2 separate regions of the Homo sapiens genome follow, and region 2 is linked to region 1. Evidence: promoter capture Hi-C in 16 types of primary human blood cells and fetal thymus (Javierre and others, 2016). All regions are on one chromosome and are shown on one strand. Each heading gives the region's core, a stretch centred on a gene start or on the middle of the fragment in contact. The rest is flanking DNA. Distances are from core to core; before and after follow the strand shown.

The links. The method cuts DNA at HindIII sites, captures the fragments that hold promoters and counts their contacts. A CHiCAGO score of 5 or more calls a contact.
Region 2: a contact is called between a fragment that was not itself captured here and the fragment with the promoter of YAF2 in region 1, in 1 of 17 cell types (total B cells). The highest score is 5.8, in total B cells.

The regions. Positions count from the first base shown.
Region 1 is chr12:42,236,773-42,241,791 of GRCh38, forward strand. It overlaps YAF2 (YY1 associated factor 2), which reads right to left and starts at 1,476. Exons shown (of 4, transcript NM_005748.6): 1 at 1,383-1,476; 2 at 827-952. The coding sequence starts at 1,408. LOC124902920 (a long non-coding RNA gene) reads left to right here and starts at 1,673. Exons shown (of 2, transcript XR_007063279.1): 1 at 1,673-1,955; 2 at 2,365-2,506. RefSeq lists silencers at 602-931, 1,052-1,121, 1,222-1,601, 1,652-1,891, 2,082-2,221 and an enhancer at 767-1,268. The HindIII fragment of the contact is 7,822 bases long and covers 152-5,019 here.
Region 2 is chr12:42,572,475-42,577,910 of GRCh38, forward strand. The region is part of intron 1 of PRICKLE1 (prickle planar cell polarity protein 1); the gene reads right to left. Among named protein-coding and RNA genes, the nearest start is that of PRICKLE1, 15 kb to the right of the region's middle. The HindIII fragment of the contact is 160 bases long and covers 1,842-2,001 here.

The DNA of each region.
Region 1 (5,019 bases), core at 226-2,725:
TTAATTCAAAGGGTACCTTCGTATAAGAATCAAGGAGCTCGATAACTAAGTGCTGACAGATTAAGAATGCCACTGACTGAATTTCCTGGATGATTTTCTTTATTCACTTAATTCAAAGTCATTTTTTAAAAGACAGAGTTATTATACTGCAAGCTTACAATAAATAAAGTCTGAAAATAGGCAGAGATCTTTTCATCTCATTTGTCTAAGAGACTGCCATTTAATCAAACTAAAGATATAAAGGTACTTTCAGTAAAAATCTGTTCCTGTGACTGGGCTCATCTCCAACTACTTATTTATAAAATATTAGAGTACTGGAATAAAAACACTAAATAAAACCTTGATCTGACCCTTCCAGAAGTACATGTAGAAAAATAAGTTTTAATATATTGTGTATTCTGCAATCAGATACTTTTCTTTCTTTAGGAACGAAATTAAATTACATCCTTTGCTCCTAAAGAGATTTTATGGGTTTTCCTTGATCCCCACACACTAACACAACAATGCAGCCAACATTTTTATACCCAGAATGGGGAGAGGGGCATTACACCCAGCGATACGAATTAAATCGCAGTAGCTAATGCCTCCCTTAAATAATTTATTCTCTCTTGGCAGCAAAAAACGTTACAGCCTCTTCAATTACCCCTCACCGCAAACCATCGCCTGGGTTGCGATCAATGTGACCCAGTTCCTATCGCCACAGCCACCTCCGTCTGCCTCCTCCCGCCGGGTCCGCCAGTGTCATGGGAGGGGGCGGCAGCCGCAAGGGCGTCCTCTGGTCGCCACCCCGCCGGCCGGCGGCGCGAGGGGCAGGCCCGGGACTCACCGGGTGGAGGTGCCCTTCCGCACATCGCACATCATGCACTTGAAGGCCTCGGCGCTGTTCCGGAAGGTGCAGACGCTACAGTCCCAGTAACCCTCATCCGAGGACGGCTTCGGCTGCCGCTTCGGCCTGCAGGACACAACCCGGACACGACGCGGCGCGGGGTCACCAGCAGGCCGCGCCCGGTGCCCGGGCCCCGCGGCCGCCCCCGCCCCGCCCCCCGCCCCAATTCTGCGACCCCCGCCCCGCGGGCCCTCGGCGCGCCGCGCTCCGGCTGAGGGGGAAGGGAGTCAGGAAGAGGCAGGGCGCGAGCGCGGCCGCAGTCGCCGCCGCCACAGCCGCTCTGACACCCGGGCGGCCGCTCCGGTCGCCGCCGCCATCGCGGCTCCATTGTGGGGCGGCCGGCGCCGGCCCCCTCAAGCGGCAGCACTCGCACACCAGCGGCGCTGCCCCCGTGCTCGCCCCGGTGCCCGGGCGGCTAGCGAGGCGGCCACCCGAAGCCCTGCACGAGGGCCCTGCCGCCCGCACAGTCCGGGCCCCGGGGCCCGGGCGCTGTTACCTGGTGGGGCTCTTCTTGTCTCCCATGGCTTGGCTATCACCGCACGCCGAGAGTCGCCGCCGCGACCGCTCTGTTTGTCAATAAGGAGGATAATAAGCCGGGCGGAAGCGGGCGGGGGAGGAGGGAGGGAGGGGGCGGGGAAGGCCGCACCGCCGCGCTCGGGAGCCGCCGCCGGATCCCACGCAGCCTCCAGCTGTCGGGGAAACTCCTGCCTGGGCGCACGTGACCCTCGCCGGCCAACCAGCAGCCGCGCCGGAGACTTCAAACGCGGCCAGCGCGGCCCAGCACCCGCGGCGAGTTAGCCGGCGGGCGGTGCGGGGGTGGCCGCGGTGGCCGCGGCTGCCTCGGGCGCCGGCGCCGCCTCTCCGCGCTGTTCCCCCGTTGCCCCCTTGGTACCCCCGGCTGCCGGGGACTGCCTCGCGCTCCAGAGCCCCTCTGAGGAGGAAAACGTCTGTCCCACCGACTGGCAGGGGATGCTCCGTCATCCCGTGCGAAGCCTGGTCCAAGGTAGGGCCGGCCGGCGTTCGGAGGCCTGTCCAGGTCTGGACAGAAGTGCCAGCCCGGGATCTCCAGGTAGAACGACTTTCCTGGCCTCCGCTGTCCTTAGCTACCCAGCCCCCGCCTGCAGTATACCGGGGGGAAGGCGGGAACCAACACGCAGCGCCATTGCTACATGCCTTAAAGCACTGTCTGGTTTATGCACACAGATGCTCTAACAAGTAGGGATTGTCAACCCTAACTTAGAGGAATTGAAATCAAGACTCAAGAGAGATTAGGTGACTTCCTCTAGGCTATATAATTAGAAAATGACAAAGCCAAGAGTCTAACTCTGTTTTAATTCCAAACGCGCCCTTTTGGCCTCTCAGGCCTCTGCAGTAGCTGCTTTTGAAAGAAACCCCTATATACTCATAAGTCCTTTTTAAATATAAGGAGTTTGCATGTCCCCTCAACGCTGTCTGCTAACAAAAGAACACCTTCCCAGGTCTCTACGTCAACATACTAAAGGTCCTCATACTCCAGACTCCAGCAACAGCCATCTAACTGGTCTCCGAAGCTCCACTTCTACCTCCCCAATGTATTCAGTAATCCACAACCAGATTAATAATAAAATGCTGTTAATACTATGCCACCACTCTGATAAAGAACCACTAACGACTTGCCCACACTCCTTAGCCTGGCATTCAAAGGCTTCACACATTTTCCCTACCTCTGCCTCCCTCTCCCATAAGGAAAGCTGCCTCCTGACAAAGAGTGCAGATGAAATTCATTCCCTTACCAGAACCCTTCCTTCATGCACATGGGTTACTTCTGCATAAAGTATATCCCTCTTTAACTGTGCTGTTTCTGTCCATCTTTCTAGGTTTACATCAAGTCCGAATTCATGTAAAATAATTTTATAGCTAAACTACATAGGAAATAATACAGTCAGAAGCCCAGGATTCTCAGCCTGCTTCTCCTGTTTCTTAGCTGATAGACCTTGGAAGTATTGCTTAATTTCTGTAATTCTCAACGTTTTCATATTCTGAATTGCATCTATATGAGATTGTTGTGCGATTAATAATAACATTTTTTGGCCGGTTGCGGTCGCTCACGCATGTAATCCCAGCACTTTGGGAGGCCGAGGCGGGCGGATCACCTGAGGTCAGGAGTTCACAAGACCAGCCTGGCCAACGTGGCGAAACCCCATCTCTATTAAAAAATACAAAAATTAGCCAGCTGTGGTGGCGGGCGCCTGTAATCTCAGCTACTCGGGAGGCTGAGGTAGGAGAATCGCTGGAATCCGAGAGTGAGAGGTTGCTGTGAGCCGAGATCGTGCCACTGCACTCGAGCTTGGGCGACAGAGCGAGACTCCGCCTCTAAGTAAATAAATAAATAACATTTTTTTGAGCACTATGTGCCAGGCACTTTGTAAATCCCTGCGCATAGATGCATATTTTAAAGGACTCAAAGTACTATGCACATGGCCTCATCGACTGCAGATGCTCTTCGATTTAGAAAGGGGATACTTCCCGATAAATCCACCTTAAATAGAAAATATTGTAAATTGAAAATGCATTTGGTACACCGATAAATCCATCGTAAAGTAGAAAAATCGTAAGTCGAGCCATTGTAAATCCGTAGTCTAGCCCTTCTTTTTAAAGACAAGGCAATTAGGGCCCAGGTTAAATGGTTTTTCTTTGATGAGCAGGCCAGGGTTAGAGCTCAGGTATCCTATTGGTCTTTCACCGCATCTTCTTTCTGATTAACCAAATCACTCCATTTACATAGCAGTCTCTAAACTCGTTGTACCATCTGTACTTTTTGCAAATGTAGCTTCTCATGATTCAGACCCAAATTCGGAAACCAGGAACCATGAGGAGTATGATTGAGGCACGTATACAAGAGAACCAGATTTAAGGCCTAGTCTTTAACCTCTCAGTAATGCAGTGGGTAAACTCAGCTAAGTTTTTTTCATATGTAAAATAAAGGAGTTAAAACTATTATCACAACTAAGGTCCCTTGCAAGTCTAAGGCATTGTGATGTTTTTAAATGCCTCAACTGGATGGATCCTCAAATAGACTGACAAGAACTGCTCTACTTGCAAAAGTGATGGCAACAATGTATTTTTAAATAAAAAGGAAACTAAATCAAGCACTCTAAAAATCCCCCATGCTGCAAATCACCATTTCACTAGATTGTAACCTCCCTCACTAAAAAGTAAGCCGCACCTCTGAATCATGAACAAAAAGCACAATAACTTTTGTTGCCTTTATTGCTGCATCTCCAGCCCCTAGAACAGTGTGACACATAGTGGGCACTCAATAAATATTCTGAGAATAAATACATCCACTTATAGTCAGGTTAGCGCGCGCCTGTATTCCCAGCTACTTGGGAGGCTGAGGCAGGAAGATAACTTGGGCCCCGGAGTTCCAGACCAGCCTGAGCAACAAAGCCAAGACCCTGTTTCTAAACTAAATAATCAATACATTCACTTGTGTTACAATTGTTGAATGAGATTTTTTTCTTTCATATTGGGATTTACAAACTGTTAGGCATATTGCATGCAGTGGATGGTCAATAAATGCCAGAATTAACATTTATCCTTCAAAATGAACTTTACAACTCCACACATCCTTGTCGATGAACCAGGAACCTAGTTTTTGTGGAGCACAGAATCATATGCCCTTGCACTATACCAACTGCCTCCCATTTATGGGTGTTTCTCTTAAAAAAAAATCTCTGCCCCTACTAGGCTTACGTGGAGACAGTAGTACAGGAGGTACTCCTCCCATTTCACCACAAAAAGTCACACCTTTCCTAAAGTGTTTACTAGCTGTAAGAGTGGCTGTTGTGGAGAAAACAGATCTTTTTATTACTAAAGTGGCCCAGGTTCTTACCCAATCAGGTGTCTTTTCAATACAGTAACAGAGTTCAGTACTTTAGAAATGTTAATTCATTACGGTCACTTGTAAAGTGACAAACACTAACGATCGTTTTAACAATTTAACAAGTGTTGAAGTTTTCTGATGATTTACTTTTTTTGTTGTTTGTTTGTTTTTTTGTGTGTTTGTTTGTTTTTTTGTTTTTGTGTGTGTGTGTGAGAGAGTCTCACTCTAGTGCCTGGGCTGTAGTACAGTGGTGTGATCATAGGTCACT
Region 2 (5,436 bases), core at 672-3,171, 340 kb after region 1:
AAAATACTTGTTTTTAAAATAACGTGCTTATAGCCCACATTTTGAAAAACCTGAGAATGGCATAAAAAAATAAAATCAAGGCTCAAGCTTGTAATTCTAGCTCTTTGGAAGGCTGGGGTAGAAGGGTCATTTGAGTCTAGGAGTTTGTGACCAGCCTGGGCAATAAAGTGAGACCTCATCTCTACAAATATATATATATAAAATCAGCAAGGCATGGTGGCATGCCCCTGTAGTCCCAGCTACTTGGTAGGCTGAGGTAGGAGGCCTACTTGAGCCCAGGAAGTCGAGGCCGCAAGTGAGCCATGACAGCACCACTGCATTCCAGTCTGGGCAACAGAGCAAGACTCTGTCTCAAAGGAAAAAAAATTTTAATAAAATCATACCCATTCCTATTCTAACCACCAGGAAGTAAATCACTACTAACATTTTGCAAATACAAAATCTTACATAGAGTTAGTAGGTCACCCATGCAGAGCATCGAACCCAAAGCACATAGATTTCCTTAGATCCAGGCTACGGTCCTCAGTTTCTTGTATGTTTAAAAAATTTTTTTTTAAATCAGTTAATCCAGTGAGTTCCTTGGGCACTGGAGGAGTGTTTCAGCCTAAACAAACTTAGCGGTTTCTGATCGCTAATCAGACTGTACTCACTTACACTAAAACATTTAACGGCTAAATAAATAAAATGCTCTGTGGAGTAGTTGACTTGAGAAACGAGAGCAATATCTGAGGGCTGCTTTAAAATATTAGAGCAAAATAACAGAATTACTTCAATGGGCATTGCCATCAAGCCAGGACCACTACAAGATGTGCTTGCCAAATAGACCAACAGACAAGGAGAAGTCCACATGAGACAATTCTGCGCTGGGCTGCTTTAGAGGCATACTCACAAACTCCTATTTATTCTTCTCTTTATTGACTCTATGTGGCCAACTGCAATTCGGATTATACCATCAGTTCTCTTTAACTCACAGGAGTTAAGGTTTTAGCTTCTACAAAGAGGCGACTTAAACATTATTCCCAAAGATTGGCAGAGAAAGTATTTTATTCTAAGATAAAAGAAAGGAAAAGGAAAGTATGATTCTTTTTGTATTATTATTATTATTATTATTTTGGGACAGGGTCTCACTCTGTTGCCCAGGCTGGAGTGCAGTGGCAAGATTTCACTTCACTACGGCCTCCATCTCCCAGGCTCAATCAATCCTCCAATGCTGCCACACTCAGCTAGTTTTTGTATTTTTTGCAGAGGTGGGATTTTGCCATCTTGCCCAGGCTGGTCTCAAACTCCTGGGCTCAAGTGATCCACCCGCCTTGGCCTCCCAAAATGGTAGGATTAAAAGGCATGAGCCACCGCACCAGGCTGAGCAATAATTCTTTAAAATTATTATGTGTGGCAGTGTATGCATCATCATGAAGTTCTCTAACATAGCCAAGGAAGTGGTAATATTGTCTAAATTTAGGACTGAGAAGAAAAATGTACTATTATTTCTTTCTCAGCATTTGTGTAGACTTCTCCTGTCTGTGGTTTTCAAGCTGTGTTCAAGGAACCAGGAACCCCACCTGGCTGGAAGGAGAAAAGGGAGCTGAGGGATGGGGTTATGGTCACTGGCTTAGGGTTGTCAGGTTAAATACAGGATGCCCAGTAAAACCTAAATTTCAGATAGACAACCAATAATTTCTTGGGGACGTGCAATATTTCAGACACACATATACTAAAAGCTTATTCATTATTTACCTGAAATTCAAATTTAACTAGGTATCTTGTGTGTGTTTATAAATATAGCTGCCTTATGACAAACTCCTTTCCACCTCCCAACAAAAGCAATCCTACTTTCCATGCTAAGCTTCCAGATAATCTTGTGTTTGAGAAAAGCATTCAGCAACAAAAAAAAGTTTGAAAACCACTTTGCTATACAAATATGGGCAACACTCTGAACCCCACTGTCTGTGGACTTTCCATCAACAAAGCAAATTGTGTCTGGTTATTGTGAAAATTAATTAAAGCTTGTAAAGCGCTTTGAAATTGGCATGTTCAGCCACATATGCTACAAAATATTTATCACACACCAGACTGCCTGAAAACATTCTGATTGCTCAGTGAACAACTAGATGGCAGAAATTCTCAAAGATGTTAAATCACAATTTTAATATCACCATATTGAAAAATCACATATTAAAACAGACCCTTCCAACCTAAGAAGGCAGAACATTTCAACCTAAGAAGTGAGTTTACCTTCAAAAAACAAACGAATAAACATGATTTGCTTTTAAAAGTACAGTATTTATACCGTTGTGGAGGTTTTCTTCAACTGAATCATAAGTTTTGTTGTTGCTGTTTTTTTTAAGCAGGAGTTCAAAACATAACAATCAGGAAATGAAGAAAATAGTTCATCTCCTATGAGACTATTGTCTGCTATTTCTGCTTGGTAAAGCTTTTTTTTTTTTTTAAGATTAAAAAAAAGTTTTATGAAAACAAAACAGAGATACCAACACAATAAAACACATCTGGAGGCCACTTGGTGACATTCAGGCTTCTTTTTTTTTTTTCAACCATTAGCTTTCATGGAAAGCTCTTACAGTACTAAAGCAAATGTCATAAAAGCATAATATTCATTACATAATGTTGTCTAAACACTTGAGGCTGAAATTCAAACCTGGCAGTGAAACTAAAGAGTAAATAAGTTCAGATTGTAACAACATAACAATGAAAAGACACAAGTGTAAACACCTGGTAGGTTGGCCAGGTAAATGCCATATTTATGAAGGAACACAGAGAGCTGTTACTTAGAACCTTAAGGCCAGCCACAGAAAAGACAGGATTACAATAAAAGTTGTCATAATTCATATGTTATTTCTGATTTAAACTGATTTACAAAGGTGGCAATCAGTCCCTAAGAGTACAGTTAATCTTATAGCCAAATAGAAAGACGTGCAATTTGGGCCAGGCACAGTGGCTCACGCCTGTAATCCCAGCACTTTGGGAGGCCGAGGCAGGCAGATCACCTGAGGTCAGGAGTTCGAGACCAGCCTAACTAACATGGTAAAACCCATCTCTACTAAAAATACAAAAATTAGCCAGGAATGGTGGTGGGCACCTGTAATTCCAGCTACTCAGGAGGCTGAGGCAGGAGAATAGCTTAAACCTGGGAGGTGGAGGTTGCAGTGAGCCGAGATAGTGCCATTGTACTCCAGCCTGGGTGACAGAGCGAAACTCCATCTCAAAAAAAAATAAAAAAAAAAATAAAAAACTTGCAATTCACTAAGCATAACGCTTGTCTAATGTTTCCTGCCTTTGTATATACTTTTCCTTCTGCCTAAACTAGCCCATTCTGCTATTCTGATAATGACTTGGCCAAACTCCTATTTAGTCATTAAGACCTAGCTCAATAATCTCTTCCTCTTTGAAGCCTCCCTTAATAGTCCACATAGAACAAATAACTTCAGGCTTTGCCTCTGTGCTACTGCTATATCCAGCACATTTCTCTATTCCTGCCTTTACAACAACATATTGCCAGTAAGTGCTTACATGCCTTCCTCCCTTACAAAACACTGCACTCTTGAAAAACTGAACCACTCCTATGTAATGTTTGTATTCCCAGAACCTACCATAATGCCTGTCAAACCACAGGCACTCAGTAAAGGTGTGTTGAAAGGAAAACCATGCCACCAAATTGAAATAAAAATGGGAAAGCTTAACATTAAATGGTTAACATGCATTTGTAAGTGCAATTTCTCCTTACTTTTCAGAGAAGAGAAAAGAAGGCAGAGAATATGCAAAACAGCCCCCATCACTTTGAAGTGAATAAATGGTTAGGAAAAGAGGCAAAAGATGAAAGGTTCTGTAGATCCATTTAAGGAGAGAGAACAACAGAAAACACTGTGAACTGCTCCTAAAGCATCTCTGCAAAAGTGTGTCAACCATACCCTGGAGCGCTAGCCTCCAGACCAAGGGGCATATTCGACTTTATTTCTGTTCCACCCTCTAACAGTCTGCTGAGAAGGCCCACAAAGGTGTCATTAAGAAATGAAATGCCTTCCTGCAGAATTTTCACACAGTCATTACCATCTGATAGCGTTTGATCTTTGAGTCATGGCTGAAGTGACCCAGATTCAAACTGGCGATTATTAATGTCAAATTTATTAGTTCTTCCTATTGGTACAGTACTTCATAGTCACTTATGAATCTTCTGGGAGACACATCATGGCTCACTGCTGTGTTCATCTGAACAATTCAAAAACTTAATCTCAGATATAATACAGATAGTAATGCTTCCCGGTGGCTGCTTATAACTTTGGGTGCAGCCTAATTAGAATGTGAACAAGACCTGAGGTCCTAAGGATTTGCTGAAAAGTGAGTGATTTAATTAATTACAATGCTACTAAAAGGAACATCTAGGCCAGTAGGTATGGTGACATATGCCAACATGTGTTATCAAAGATTAATTATAGGAAGAGTTTCACTACATACTGCATAGTTACACCAGCATTTATCTGGGGAGTTTGGAAGATAAGAAAGTTATTAGGGTTATTGAAAATATTAGGAATGCAACTAAAATGAATGTTATGTTATTTTTATTTTCCAGCAAACCCTCTCTAAGCCTCCCAAAATTAAATCCAGTTTGGTCAATGGGCACGCACATTTTAAACACAGTTTTAATCACTGTGTGTCAACAAGTGAACATGCTAATTTGAGTACTACTTTAAAAATTGTCCACATTTCCCATGTATAAACATAATAATCACATTTGTAATTTTTAGCATAAACATAAGTATGCCACTATTGTAACAACATTCAATTAATAATTTGCTCTGTAATATCACTGCATTTTTTTTTTTTAGCTGTCACATTGAACTCTAAGGTAAACTATAAACCAGACTTTTGATCAGGGGAAGTGTATATTCTGTTAGGCCCTCAGGCCTTTAAAACATAGCTATTGTTGAATTTTAACTGGCCACACTGAATAATAAATAAGGCTATAAGTTGCACCTGGCTCATATGAATACTTTTGAAATAGACTGTTAAAAAAATTCTAATTTGGGATTTGGGTGGTGAGAATGATGAGACTAATAATAACACTACCAGCTCACATTTGTTATTTATTATCTATCCCCCTGAAGTTATGGCCTCCACATTTTTAGAGTCAAGTAAATTTTGAGCTTAAAAAATCATCAGCCTCTCCTCACTTTACAACTGAGGAAACTGAGGCACAGAGTGGGTACGAAGGCCAGAAAATTATGTGACTCATCTAAGATCCCATGCAAGTTAGTAGGAGATGCAATAATTATGTAAAAGCATTTAATATAGAACACACATAAGCACAGCAATATTTATGAAACAATAAAATATCATCAAACAATTTTGGGTAAGCTACAAGTGCTTGCTTACTTTCCCTTTCTATTGTTCTTTTCTTCTTTCTTTCTAAAAATTTAACTGCAA